Linked DNA regions of Homo sapiens: regions 2, 3 and 4 are each linked to region 1. The links are contacts of gene promoters, found by promoter capture Hi-C in blood cells and fetal thymus (Javierre and others, 2016). All regions are on one chromosome and are shown on one strand. Each heading gives the region's core, a stretch centred on a gene start or on the middle of the fragment in contact. The rest is flanking DNA. Distances are from core to core; before and after follow the strand shown.

The links. Contacts are between HindIII fragments. The CHiCAGO score rates a contact against its expected background, and 5 or more counts as called.
Region 2: a fragment that was not itself captured here is called in contact with the fragment with the promoter of TMEM215 in region 1 in 4 of 17 cell types (total CD8 T cells, endothelial precursors, total B cells and 1 more); the score reaches 6.1 in total CD8 T cells.
Region 3: a contact is called between a fragment that was not itself captured here and the fragment with the promoter of TMEM215 in region 1, in 1 of 17 cell types (M0 macrophages). The highest score is 5.1, in M0 macrophages.
Region 4: a fragment that was not itself captured here is called in contact with the fragment with the promoter of TMEM215 in region 1 in 1 of 17 cell types (M2 macrophages); the score reaches 5.1 in M2 macrophages.

What each region holds. Positions count from the first base shown.
Region 1 is chr9:32,781,548-32,785,053 of GRCh38, reverse strand. It overlaps TMEM215 (transmembrane protein 215), which reads right to left and starts at 1,514. Exons shown (of 2, transcript NM_212558.3): 1 at 1,249-1,514; 2 at 1-928. The coding sequence starts at 870. The coding sequence ends at 163. It overlaps LOC105376017 (a long non-coding RNA gene), which reads left to right and starts at 2,148. Exons shown (of 7, transcript XR_929559.2): 1 at 2,148-2,411. The HindIII fragment of the contact is 4,873 bases long and covers 1-3,506 here.
Region 2 is chr9:32,319,801-32,323,306 of GRCh38, reverse strand. The region is part of intron 1 of LOC107987059 (a long non-coding RNA gene); the gene reads left to right. Among named protein-coding and RNA genes, the nearest start is that of ACO1, 63 kb to the left of the region's middle. The HindIII fragment of the contact is 180 bases long and covers 1,504-1,683 here.
Region 3 is chr9:32,373,267-32,376,772 of GRCh38, reverse strand. No RefSeq gene overlaps it. Among named protein-coding and RNA genes, the nearest start is that of ACO1, 9.6 kb to the left of the region's middle. The HindIII fragment of the contact is 437 bases long and covers 1,737-2,173 here.
Region 4 is chr9:32,429,388-32,432,893 of GRCh38, reverse strand. It overlaps ACO1 (aconitase 1), which reads right to left. Exons shown (of 21, transcript NM_002197.3): 13 at 3,391-3,475; 14 at 2,320-2,476; 15 at 1,051-1,175. Among named protein-coding and RNA genes, the nearest start is that of ACO1, 46 kb to the right of the region's middle. The HindIII fragment of the contact is 9,294 bases long and covers 1-3,506 here.

The DNA of each region.
Region 1 (3,506 bases), core at 265-2,764:
CATGCCTATTTACATGACTCTCGGGTACCAGAGGTTATCACACCCATCACATACCAGGTCAATTTCTAACAGTGTGAAGGCTCTCCAAGCAGAGCAATTTGCTTCCACGGGGAGCTGGGCTTAGTCATATTCTATCAATCCAGCCACCTTTGTAGGCAGAGATTAGACGATGGTCTCGTGGTCCCACCTGCCTTGTATCTGATTGATATAACAACAGTATCTGTCATACGGGCTGTTCTGCTTGTAGGAGCAAACGATGATACTGTCCTGGGGCACAAAGAAGATGCTATCCTCAGGCTCAGGGCACTCAGATCTGTCCCTTGCTGAGCACTTGACGTCCAAGGCACTGTAGGTGAGGGAACTGCCCGAGGGGCAGTAGCCGTCCAGGTATCTGGACGTCTCCTCCTGATGCCCATTCTGGACGAGGCTCTGGCATTCTCCTTCCTCCGTGGGTGTGGGGCTGTTGATGGAGCTGGCCACGGACACCTCACCCTGGCTTTGTGGGGGAGGCTTCCCCCTGAGGCCCGCCTTCTTAGCCAGCTCATCTGAGCTCCCCTTGCCGGATTCTAGGTCTGAAGGGGTCCTCAGCAGCTCTACCACCTCCTTGTCTTTGGGTTTCCGGAAGCAGGGCAATTTGCGGACCCACAGCAGCTCGTTCTCTGGCCACTTGGTGCATCCCTCGGTTTTCCTGGCCAGGGCAATGGCTGCGATGCCTGGTAGGCAGATGGCTGGCCCGATGGCCAGGAGGGGGATGTTTCCCAAAGTCTCCCCTTTCATCCCAGAGACGGTGAACATGAAACCAAAGACGAGGAAGACACTGACCAGGGCCACCACCAGCCCAGTCCTCGGGTTAATGTCATCAGGCCGCATGTTTCACTCCATCCAGGTTGGGGGCTGCTTGCTGACCAGGGAGCAGCGTTCCTCTATTCTGTCAGAGATGAAACCACAGTGCGTTAAAAAAAAATCCAAGTCAAGCTCCCACCCATCAACTCTTGTCTTTCTCTTGCCCTTTGTCTCCGACTTGCTTCTTGACTTTCAGTCTTGATCTCTGTCTCTGTATCTCTCTTGCAATCTCTCTATCTCTCTCTCTGCGTTTCTCTTGCAATCTCTCCCTGTTTCTATTTCTACTCTTTCTCTCCGTCCCCTCTCCCTCCCTCCCTTTCTTGTGCCCTCCCTCTCTTCCTCTCACTATTGCAACCTCCGTCTCTCTCTCATATCAACACGCTCCGGCTGGGGTCAACGAGGTACCTGAGGTTTCCTGCCCTCTCCAGGAAGTAGGGAAAGAAGCCAGGCTGTCTCCTCAGAAGCCCCCACAGCAGCTGCCCCCTCGGCTCGCTCCCTTGGTTCTGGGAGGAAAGCCTGGTTTCCCCCACGGACTCTGCATCGGGGAGGTGGAACCTGGGAGAGCGGCTCTCCCAGCAGTGCCCGTCGGTCCCGGTGCTGTGCAAGCGGAGCCCGGCGCCAGCTCAGCGCGCAGAGCGCGGGGCGCGGGAGGAGGAGGGAGCACTGAGTCTGGGAAAGAGGGGACGCGGCGCGAGCCTGGCCTTGTTACATCACTGTCAGAGCAGGCTCAGAAACGCAGACAGACGCGCGGGGGCGCGAGGGGGTCAGCCCCAGAGGGAGGCCACCCGGCGGCAGGCGCTGCCCGGGGTCTCGTCGGGGCTGCTGGGAGCGGCCGGGGTTTGTGCCGCCGCCGTTCCGGAGGCTGAGCAGGGCGACCTGACCCGCTTCCGTGCCCGGGAAGGGTCTGGGGCGCGAGGCTGCCAGTGGCCGGAGTCGGAAACCAGGGTCGGTTTGCCCACGGGGCAGCCGTTGCAATATCCGAGCTCGGGCTCCCAGTCCGGGATCCGAGGAGTTAGGTGCCAGCTGGAGATGTCCCTCCGGGACCCGCACCCTTCTCCAGTTACAAATCCGGGTGACTGACGGCAGGCCCAGGGGCTCCCCGACCGCCCTTCTCTCAACCCCTCGACTCGGGGCGCGGGGGGGTGTGTGTCCCTCGGGGAGCCGGTGCCCGAGGACTGCTTTGGTCCCGGCTCTGGGCGGTGGCGGCGCGCGAAAGCGCTCTTGCAGCGGAGCGACTGCGCCGCGGGAGCGCACAGAACCAGCGCCCAGGCGGAGTGGGTTAGTGGTGAGGGGTGGGTGCCAGGCTAGTCCGGGCCTTGGGGGAGTCCCCGGAGTCCCCGTGGCTTTCCAGCTCCAGGCTCGGGAGAGGGTGACCTTGGAGCCGGGATTTCACTTCTACAGCGCTGTGGTGCCGGGGGGACAGGGAGAAGGGCTCCCTGGCCCCCAGTTCACGAGGAGAAGGGGCCTTGACCGGTCAGGACCACCACCCTACGACGCCGCTCAGCTCTGGGCGATTCTCTCCTCCCTTGCTGAAGCAGGCATTGAGAGCCTGCGTTCCTCCCGCTCTGGTAGGCAGGGGCAGATGGATTCCTCTGGCCCCGGGGGGCAAGACTGGCTTTGGCTGTGATTCTTCAACAGGGCTGCCCATTTAGGATAGAGGAGGGCGGTGGAGAACAGGTTGATGAGCGGTACATGCTTTCATGTCAAGACACTGATTTACTGGAAAGAATTTTCACATCCAGGCCTTCCCCAGTTAAACTAGCTGTATATTCCTGGGCAAGTGACTTAACCTCTCTGAGAATCAGTCGTCCTATCTGTAAAATGAGATTAATACCAAATATATGAGGAAACATTGTGAGGATTAAATAAACGTAAAGTTCCTAGCACAATGCTTGGTACATAGTCTGTGTACAAAAATTACACACACATGCACACACGTACACATGTATATGTATATATATTTGTCATCATAATTAGTGTCTTCATCATGTATGACAGGAGCCAAACAAATCATAAAGGCTGTGAGACTAAGGACTTTTTATCCACTAGGCAATGAAGAACGCTTGATGTATTTTAAGCAAAGATCAATACAAAAACATTCCAGTTTGACTGAAAGGGGCGGCAGGTGAGAGCATAGGTTGGAGCTGGTAAGTCTGGAAGCCGGGAGTCTTGTTCAGTAAGCTGAGAAGTTCAGTAAGCCGGGCAAGACATGATGTGGCCTTAACAATGTCGGGCTGGTAGAGGAGTTGGAAGGAAGCAGATCTGAGGGTATTTAAGGGTTGAGTGAAGTGTCTTGGAGCACAGTGAAGTGAGATGAAGGGAGGAGCCAAGGTCAACTCCCAACTTTCTCACTTTCAAAGGGGTGGATCAGGAAGCAGATCCTTCTCATTTTCCTCTCCATCATCTATTTTGTATCTTTTGTACTCATGACCATTAGACAGCTGCTGCACCTTTAGGCATAGAATCATTTAGGAGGGAAGAAAGGAGAAAATGCAAAGGGTAAAAGTGAGGTGCCAGTTCTTTGGCCACTTGTATGAGGACAATAATAATTTTCCTGGCAGCCCCCCCAAGTAGATAGGCATCTGCCTGTAATTGACCAGAGATGGATGAGCTTTGGGATACAAAGGTACCTGGGAAATTGTTGTTTATTTATTTACCAGATC
Region 2 (3,506 bases), core at 344-2,843, 460 kb after region 1:
CAATGGATGAACCCTATCCCCTTTCTTTCCTGGATGGATGATTCTGAGAAGTGTCTCATAAGGTCCTGCCTTTCCCTGCTTTGCTAAACTACTTCCCTGTTCTGCATTCCTGCTCCCTCAGGTTCCATTCTCAAATAAGTCATCACCATGTGAGCCTTTGTCTCAGGCTCTGCTTTTGAGGAACCCAGGCTAAAATAGGAAGCATCAATAAATGTTAGTTTTTATGAACATTATTGCTGATCTTGTAAATGCCCCTCATCTAGAATATTGCTGCAGGAAATTCAATCACCTACCAGCTGTTTCTAGGGCTTCCTAGAAATCCTTATTCCATCCTTGCAGGTGCACAGCTTTTGTTGCTTCTGCCCTTCCTCTCGCCCTCTCTATATCCCTTCCCTATGCTACTCCGGCCTTCCTGGTCTGCTTCTCCTAGAGCTATGAATACGCAGGCTTCCCCCAACCTACCCCTTTCTTTTCCCAGGCATGCTTAGTCCAGCGCTTCGTGGGCAACAGAGATGCATATGGAAAACCCATGGGGACACGCTTGCTTCACCAAATAAGGGTATTTCCCTTTTCCTTGGAAAAAAGAATGAACAAATGATGGTTGTTAAGTAAACATTACTAAAATCTGTGCCCTTTCCCAGAAGTATATCGTGCATATTTATTTTAATAAGGCAAGAGAACAAATAACAGTTTCTAGAGGCAAGGGAAACAGCTGATTTACTGTCCTCCTTTTAGAACATAGCTCAAGAGACTGGGTTTTGTTTTTGTTTTTGCATAAGTAATCTTAGATCCATCCTCTATATTTCTACTGCTCCCCCTGGGCCTTTGTTATGACTTCATCATTTCCTGACTGGCTGACTGGTACTGTGTTATAACCACCCTTTCCCTCCACACTTCCATCAGAGTTGCCCTCTTATAACTCACATGTGATTATTGCACTCTACTGCTTAGAACCTGTCAATGGGTCCCACTGTCCAGATTACAGTGTCTATATTTCCCTTATAATCAGCCCTGCCTATTTCTCAGAGTATCTTTCTCCACTAATTTTTCCTCACAGTGCACCTAAGCCAGCAGTTCTCAGCTTCAACATCACCTGCCAACTTTTTAGAAAATCAGATTTGTGGGCCCACTTCAGACCTATTCAATATGAAACTCTGGGGATGAGGCCCAGTAATCTGTGCTTTAATAAACTCTCCAAGTGACTTTGATGCATGCTAAATTTGAGAGCCACTCACCAAAGTGAAGCAGGTGCAGTGTATGCAGTTTGAATTGCCCTTAATCCCCTAATGCACCTAGAATTTCCTACTCATCCTTCAAAAGTCATCACCTCTTTCATGAAGCCTTCTCTGCCTTCATCTAACAGTGTTTACCATTCCCTGCTTGGTATCTCCAGGACACTTCCATTGTGAAGTGTAAAACACTGTTTTGCAATTCTTGCAAACTTACTTGTCCATCTCCCTGACTAGACTATGAGATGCTCATGGGAAATACTCTCTAAAAGCTTGTTTTAACTTTCTCTTTCCTGTTGGTCTCTCTCTGTCTTCATGCACACATGTATACGGCTTCCATAAAGAAGACTGCAGAATAGAATAGGGAACCACTGTTTAAAGTTCATTGCCCTTTCCACCAATTGGGATCTCATTCTGGCTGCCTTTTTTCCCTTTATATCTTATTCAATAAGCTTTTATTTAATTTTAACTTTTTTGTTAGTTTTTAAACTTTAAACTTTTTTATTTCTAATTTTTATGGGTACATAGTAGATGTATATACTTATGGGGTACATGAGCTAGTTTGATACGGGCACAAAATGTGTAATAATCACACCAGGGTAAATGAAGTATTCATTATGTCAAGAATTTATTTCTTTGTGTTACAAACAATCCAGTTATATGCTTAGTTATTTTAAAATGTACAATAAATTATTGTTGATTGTAGTCATCCTGTTGTGCTGTGAAATACTAGATCTTATTCATTCTATCTAACTACATTTTTGTACCCATTAACCATCCTCACTGTCCCCCTACCCTCTACCAGCTACCCTCCCAGCCTCTGGTAACCATCATTCTGCTCTCTACCTCCATGAATTCAACTGTTTTAATTTTTAGCTCCCACAAATGAGTGAGAACATGCGAAGTTTGTCTTTCTGTCCTGGCTGCCTCTTTTTGTCTGTCATCACAAGGTGTGTAACTGACTTTGCCCCAGGTATTAAGAAACAGATACAGTCACCTCTCAAAAAAGGGGGCCAGTTATCAGAAACAGGTCAGTTCCTGGCACTATCGATGAGTAATTCTGTTTGCTTTATGACCCTGACTCTCCTTTAAAAATGAATCAGTTGAAGCTGTAGTTGATTATGCTTTCTTTTCGGTCTTAGACCTACAAAGACTTTTTACTGACTTAGTAAATAAAAGCTAAGCCACTTAAAGAAACCTTGAAGTTGTCTGTTTAGGGGCATTAGTCTGTGTTATCATCTAGGGACAAACCTGTGACTCTCTTCTCTCTGTGTTATAAGAGTTGGTTTTGGGCTAGAGAGAACTCCGTTGTGAACTCAGAAGACGAGGTGGGGGTCCCGGGAGAGTCAGGGCAGGTAAGGGAGAGACGACCCTGATTTTATCCTCCTCTAATAGTGACTCCATAGCTATACAGATATTGGATAGTGCCCTTCAGTGTTGATAACTGGGAGGGAGATTTGCTGACTCTATCTGGAAAGAGAGCAGTTGGGAAGATGTCCTGATTGGCTAGTAGGCCAAGTTCTATAATATTTCCTTTATCTAGATATCCCCAGTGGCTAGGACAGTGCCTACTATGCCGTCAATTCTAAATACATTGTGGTTGAGCTTTTACAATTATAAATTCCAGGGTTTGTGGGCACTATACTACATAAAATCATTTACCTTTTTCTTGCAGCTTGAATTGGGCCATACACTTTTTTGAAAAGTCTTAATTTAAAAAGATAGAAGCAAGCAGCCCACAGCTGCATTGGTTTTTCTCTAGGTTAGAAGCTTTCCTATAAACCATTTGATGAAGTAGCAGATGGCAAAGTTAGAACCTTTGTAGCTCTAAGACTTAATAGAAGCCATGATCAACTATGGATTGTCTTGTAACCCAAATTGATGCTTTTGTTGCACTCTGATGGACTTGTCACTTGTTCTGCCTCTTGATTAATTGTGACAAAAATCATTCTAATTATACATATTGAACAATAAATCTTTGGTCAATATCCTCTAGATATAATTTGTGTAACCGAATACCCTCTTTTGAGTGTTGCTTTCAGAGCTAAAGCGGGAGGGAAGAGATGGCTCTGACAAATTCAGGGCATTTTTGAATAAGCATGAATTGGATTATAATAGGCTGCGATGAGAGAGCTAGAATATGGTGGAATACTTTATATTCAGCAGAGCTCATCTGGGTCCTGGCAATCAGAAATTCTGGGACACAGATTTTCTTCACTAAAACTCTTAATTTATGCCCATAATAGGCTGATTAAGGATGTGGCAGTGGAGTGATAT
Region 3 (3,506 bases), core at 706-3,205, 410 kb after region 1:
GGGGAAAGTACATTTCTCTCACTCTCCTGCCTGTTAATGAATGTTTACAGGCTAAGCAAGAGGCAAGGTTGAAACAATCTTCCCAAATGGTACTTTGATTGTGCTCACTCTCCTCAGGAACAGGAAGAAGGGACTTTATATGACAATTAGGCCGCAAAAGTGGGGAAGCCAAAAGTGGCTGTATCTGATTGGTCAAGGAGTCCCCCCAAAGCTTAAATAATGATGTCATCTGTAAGTAGATACAGCTTCAGGTGGACCAAAGCCAGATGTTCACTTGAATGAGCCCAACCTGCTGGTAGCTGCTTGAAATGGAAAGCTGATGCAAACTGGCTTACTGGCCTGAAACTGCTCTTTCCCTCTGCACTTCCTGACCCTTCCTTTCCCCTGTACCCCAGCCTCAACTGCTTTAAGGAAAATGCTGAGTATGCGGGGGAACTGAAAGGAGGGGAGGAACTCAAATATTTTTAGCTCTGTTGAATATAGGTGCCCAAGTCATAATCCTTCCCAGTCTCATGAATGGAGAGGGTGCTGGGCACAAGGATATCTAAAGGTACTGAGGATTGTAGGGTGCAAGGGAATTTACCCTGAGCCTGGTTGGGAGAGACAAAGGATAAGAAAAGCCATCTTCTCCCCTCATCTGCATCCCCCTTCCAGCAGCTATTGTTACAGTCCTGTTATGCCTGTTAGACTTCTTGGTCCATATTTCTATAGGGCAGTGTTTTTCAACCAGGGTCATTTTGTCCTCTCCTCCCACCCAGGGGACATGTGACAATGTCTGGAGACTTTTTTTTTTTTTTTTTTTGAGACAGAGTTTCATTCTTGTCGCCCAGGCTGGAGTGCAATGGCACGATCTTGGCACACTGCAACCTCCACCTCCTGGGTTCAAGTGATTCTCCTGCCTCAGCCTCCCAAGTAGCTGGGATTATAGGCACCAGCCACCATGCCCAGCTAATTTTTGTTATATAATTATTATTATTTTTTTAGTAGAGATGGGGTTTCTCCATGTCGGCCAGGCTGTTCTCGAACTCCTGACCTCAGGTAATCTGCCTGCCTTGGCCTCCCAAAGTGTTGGGATTACAGGCGTGAGCCACTGTGGTGGGCCTGGAGACATTTTTGATAGTCACAACTGAGCCGGGGGACGATGTGGGGGGTGTTCTACTGGCATCTAGTTGGTAAAGCAGGGATACTGCTAAGTTTCCTACAGTGCTTGGGAACCCCCAGACAAAGAATTAACCACTCCTAAATGTCAAGAATGAACCTCTGCCATGGGGGAAAATGTGCTCCAAATTCAACTGATGGGGTTTGGGCAACATTTTTTCCATGTGGGAGGAAAATTAACGTGACCTTGTAGGACCTTTAGGGCCAATCCAACGTACTGTTTGCTGTGTCTTTCACTGATGAATGTATAATTGGTGTTCATGTTGTACGTGCTTGTGTTGTGAATCCTCATGAAGCCCAGAGGAATTCTTCTATTCAAGGACTGTGGCATGTGGAGGGGTAATCTCTGTCCCCTTCCCAGTAGTATAGCAAAGAGAATATAAAACCTGAGAAGAAATGGAAATTAAAGCTTTAAAGACTTAATGGCTGCAGTATTCAGGAGGCAATTTCCTAGTAACAACTGATGCAAGCACCAAGTACACCTCTTTTAAAAACAGGGGCTTCTGTTGTCCTGTTGCTGAGCTATTGACCTGTATAGACTTTGGGTCAAGAAGCTGAACTGCTGACCCATAGAAGCTTTGTGACTCTGCAGCCTGATGTCTCCATTTTGGAATGGGTTATCTTGGATTTGACAACCTATAAGGAAAAGGCCCGATATATCTCAGTTGTCAAATGGAAATTGTAATATTCAAGGATAGAGTTGGTCTGTCCCCAGTAGCATCTCAGTTTACATGAAAGAGTGGCAGCTATCATTTTAGGGAAAATATTTTCATTACACTGCTTGAAGTAAGGCCACCAGATCAATGAGGCCCTTGATTCACAGTGTTTCTTTCAATGCCTGGGCCTGGTTTACTGATGGTTTGGCTAAGTTGAAACCTGTTGGTGTCCATTAGGCTGCTACAGTAGTCAATTGCTGCTCTGTACATGGCACCCTGAAAACTGATATGCTTGTCCACTCAGTGGGAAGAATTTAAGACCATTCTCATAATTCTGCCCAATACTTCCCACAAAAGCTTATATTTTTACTAACTCTTGGGATATTGCCAATGATCCAGCCATTTGGTCTGCTATATGGCCTGTCACTTACAAGCCTATAGACTAACAGATTAAAGATACTTCTCTCTCAGGAAATGAACTGTGGAAATAAGCCATCGCTGATGATAAAATACCTAGGCCATTCATGTTAGATGATGTTTGTATTAAGAACCCATTCTCCAGTGAGACCTACAGAAATCAAGCTGTTGATCCAGCCTGAAATGTCCAGCTCATTTCTTCTACCACCTTAATCTATCACTGTATTAGACATGGCCACATATATATCATCATTGACTTGGCACAAGATAAAGGGTTATACACTTCTAATGTGGAAGCTACCAGTGTGTGTCAGACTTGAAACTCCTGTCAAGGATTGGCTGGCTGGTCTTGTGGTGAAGGAGGTTGCATTGCACAGGTATGAACTCTGTCCATTCCTGGTACACTGACAGTATCGGACCTTTGACCTCCTTCTGTATCTACTGGTGGTGTCTCACTGCTCTTGATACTTTTCCGCAGTCCAATCAGCCAACTCTGTCTGTACTCCTGTGGCTCTTGAGACTTGATTTTCTGGACCATTTGCAGCCTGACAATGGTACCACTTTTGTGACAAAGGTCACCCAATGATAAGCCCATAATCAAGAATTCAATTCCATGCTCCATCTGCAGGCATCTGATATTGTTATGTATTGACTCAACAATACTTCTCAAGATCCTTGACTTGACTCAAGTATTGACTCAACAATATCAGATGATATTGAATCTGAAATGGATTTCTCACAAATTGACTTAAAAAGATTTCAACTCTACTTTTCTCACCTCCTCCTGTAAAGAGTAGTAAGACAGTATGGTCACTAAATGTGGTTGTCTCCAGAACCATAATGGAGACAAGACGTGGCCAAGGGGTTATTTTCTGGATACTAATCAAAATGAAAGGACAAGGGTTTATATAGGCCTATTTTGAAAATCTGGAATTCTGTACTAACCATTCTTGGACACAATGGATCTTTCTTTACCCTAGAGCAACCCTAGACCAGTGGTTTGTACATCCTCCTACCTTTAGCAGTGTAGCCAAAAGGGATACTATGGAATTAAAATTGATTCTGATTCAGCCATCAGGATTCTCTTTTTGGATTAACACGGTCCAATATGAAGACAATAGTTACCTGGTTGAGTACACTGCTTGCTGGATTAGCCTATGGAAAATGCAGTGGCTTAAAAGAACACAAACTTATTATTTTACACTTCTGGAGGTCAGAAATCTGAAATGGGTTCCATTGGGCTAACATCAAGGTGTTGGTAAGGCTGCATTCCTT
Region 4 (3,506 bases), core at 358-2,857, 350 kb after region 1:
AGACTGCAGCCCCAGATGACATCTTACTGGAACCCTGTGAAAGTACACAGTGAAGCTGTGCCTGGATTCTTGACCCACAGAAAATGGGAGACAATATATGTTTGTTGTTTCAACTCACTATATCTATTGCTATATCACAGCAATAGATAACTAATGCATATGCTTATCAATAACTTATGAAATAATAATCCAGATTGTACCAAAGGGGAAATTACTCTCTGAGTGTTTTGGGAAGTGGCCTTCCAGGTCACACAAACACTGGGTAGCAAATGACAGCTGCTATGCATTAAAATTGGTTTGAATTCTGTCCACAGGTCCATTAACTCGGCCTTTGGAGGAAGGCATTTAACATAATGCCTGCCAAGCTCCCTAACACCATCTCCCAAGGAGCACCTTGTGAAGAGTGCAGCGTGTGAACATCACACCTACATCACCCCTTCCCCTAGACAGTTCTACCCTCATTTAAACCATCAGCCGCAGTCAGAAGCCCTTGGGTCAGCTGAATGCAGAAGGCGGGGAAAGGAATAATATCCAAGAGTCTCAGAATATAATGCTGAGCCCCACACATTTCCTCCTATTTGTAAAATGCACGGAAAGTTTTATTTCAGTAGTTTGGCACTTCCTACTGAGTGGCCTTAATTTCTTTATTTTTAAGTGTGCAAAAATGCATTCTGAGAGGTGCATTCGACCAATGGACTCCACTTAGTGACACAATATAGTGACCACCAGGGGTCCTCGCCACAGCTGACACACACCCCTGGGTGTCCGAGAAAGGCGTGGGGTTTTGGAGAGCTGAACCTGAGGAGGCCTTTCTTCTCTAGGCTGTCACCAACTTGTCCAAATCTGGGAACATCTGGGGGAGGTGGGGTTTGTAAAAATGCGAGTCACAGGAGAAAAATGACGGAGAACCACCTCCCCAGTCATCTGAAGAAATAAATGTTACTTTATATAGTTTATACTTCCGTTAGCCTTGAGGTCTGCAGACAGGACACAAAGGGAGCAGCTTTCCCTTAGATCCTCTGGGGCGGGGAGGGCAGTGTGGGACCTCACCTCTATTTTCTGATAGACTTCCTTAAACATCCCCGGGATGACATACTGACGCTCCACTGCCTGGATCTCGTCTCTAGTCGGCCAGATATCTTTCAGAAATACCTGCTGTCCCTTTGCATTTACTCCTGGGGAAAAAATGTTTATTAATGAGAAAACTTTCTAATATGCAATTTTCATGATTATACAGAGTCAAGCCTCGTTCTCCTCGGTAGTTATGTTCTATAAAGCCCGTGTGAACACTGAATGACTGGATACGGAATCACTGCCACTGGAGGAAATACAGGGTTAGGTTCCTGCAAGCCTCTGGTCACCCATCAATACATAACCTTGCTTCATGTGAGGTTTATTATTCACCTTATTTAATAGCAATTGTTGACTCACTGACATTGAACTTCCAGCGAAGCCTATCTAAACACAGTACGCATCACAGTCGGCTTGTGCTCAAGAACACCAGAAGCACTTCAGGACTATGCTCAAGGACCATTTTGAACAGCAAAATCACCACAAAAAGCACAAAAATGCAAAAAGCATGGCACTACGTAGACCAAGAAAAGGATCCTTATATATCGCAGGAGAGCTGAAACAAGAAGTCAGAGTGACGCCTTATCAGATCTCAGCATAGAACGTGTGTGTTGAATGATATAAAGTTTTCACCCCTTTGTGCTGATCTGTGAATGACCGTGAACATACTACAAATACTGATTTGGGGGTTAAAATACATTTTAGTGACTACGCAAATCTGCAAACATAGAACTCACAAATAACGAGGATCAACTGTACGTCTAAAGTTATGATTTCCTAAAAGTAAATTTCAGAGGCATTGTTTTCATATTATCTATTCGGCTTAGAATAGATTGAGGCAGGCAGAGCAAGCAAGCTGATCTGGGGAAAGGAAATGATGTATCATTTCTTTGGAATTCTGAGAAGTTGAAATATCTGCAGTATGTTTCTACAGAGTATATATTGAAACAATGCCTATCATTAAAGTGAGAGCTAGAAAGGGAGGAACTACAGAAGAAACCAGAATAGCAAGATGTCTATTCCTTTTGGCACCTGTTTTCCTTTCGTTATCCTTTACCCTCAGTAGATTCTTGTTTTAACTACTGCAGTTAAGTCTTAGCTGTATATTGGGGAATAAAGAAATTATTCTCTTCTTTGTCTTATCCCTGGAGGCTCTATGCTTCATTTCTTATTAAGGAAAGCAGTTTCTTCTAGTAATATTTCTGAATTCACTGGAAAAAAATTATGGCTGCACAAACAAAATCTTACCCAATGGCTCTTTCTCAAAGTCGATTCTGATGGTTCCAGCAATTGCATATGCTATTACTAAGGGGGGAGAGGCTAAATAGTTGGCCCGGGTGTTGGGGTGAACTCGACCTTCAAAATTCCTGTTTCCAGATAGTACTCCAACAGCTACAAGGTCTCCCTGAGTAAGGCAAGAGAAAAATCAGGTCACTAAAAGATACTGACTAGGCTTCTTGTCTCAGACCATTGGCAAGAGTTTCCACATCGCAAGGATACAGTCCTTTAAGCTGCCCTTTCACTTGGTTCTCTCCCACTAGAGGGGAGAAGGGTACACTGGGGTGTCCCCATGGGAGATACTCTGGGTCAAAGGAAGCAGAGACATGTTTAGTGATTTCTGCTCACGAGAAAATATCAGGTAGTTAGAAGGCAACATACTAGTTATTGCTGCCTGGGGCCCAAGAACAGGTGGGAAAGACCTAACAGTTGATCGTTAAAGGAAGTCACAATGCACAATTATAGAATACGTAGATTCTATAATTAATGCAAAGCAAACCAAATAATATCTTTCAAGGTTCAGCATTTTGGGGATAAAAATCAAGCCAAAGCAATTTAGTTTAGATTCGTTTGTGTGGAGACTTGTCTCACTTTGAACCAATTTTCAAATTATTTGGGTTGGTGCAAAAGTAATTGTGGTCTTCATCACTGAAATGGCAAAAATCACAGTTACTTTTGCACTAACCCAATACCTATAACAAACAACTGTAGAGCCCTTTGTAGTGAAAACCAGCCAGTACTGAGCACTTGAGTGCCAGACACTGCACTAAGTGACTTATGTTTATCATCATCTTAATTCTCACAACTCTATAAAATAGATACTATTATCATCTCCAATATACAGTTGTGAAAACCCAGGCACAGATAGGTTAATTAACTTGCCCAAGGTTACCCAGCTAGTAATTTTAACTAAACTCAAAAGATCATACTCTAAACCACATCCCCTGCTTCCATGGACCTTCTTGAAAATATCAGCATTTTTGTCACATTACATGAAAAGAAACAACTGCTCTGAAGACCTGCAGGGACCTCTGCAATTACCTGTGTGATGGCTTCTACCACAGGTTCAGGTAAAGGCCCACTGTTGCCAATGCAGGTCATGCAGCCATAGCCCACCACGTCAAACCTAGACACCAAGAGAGAAGCACACACACACA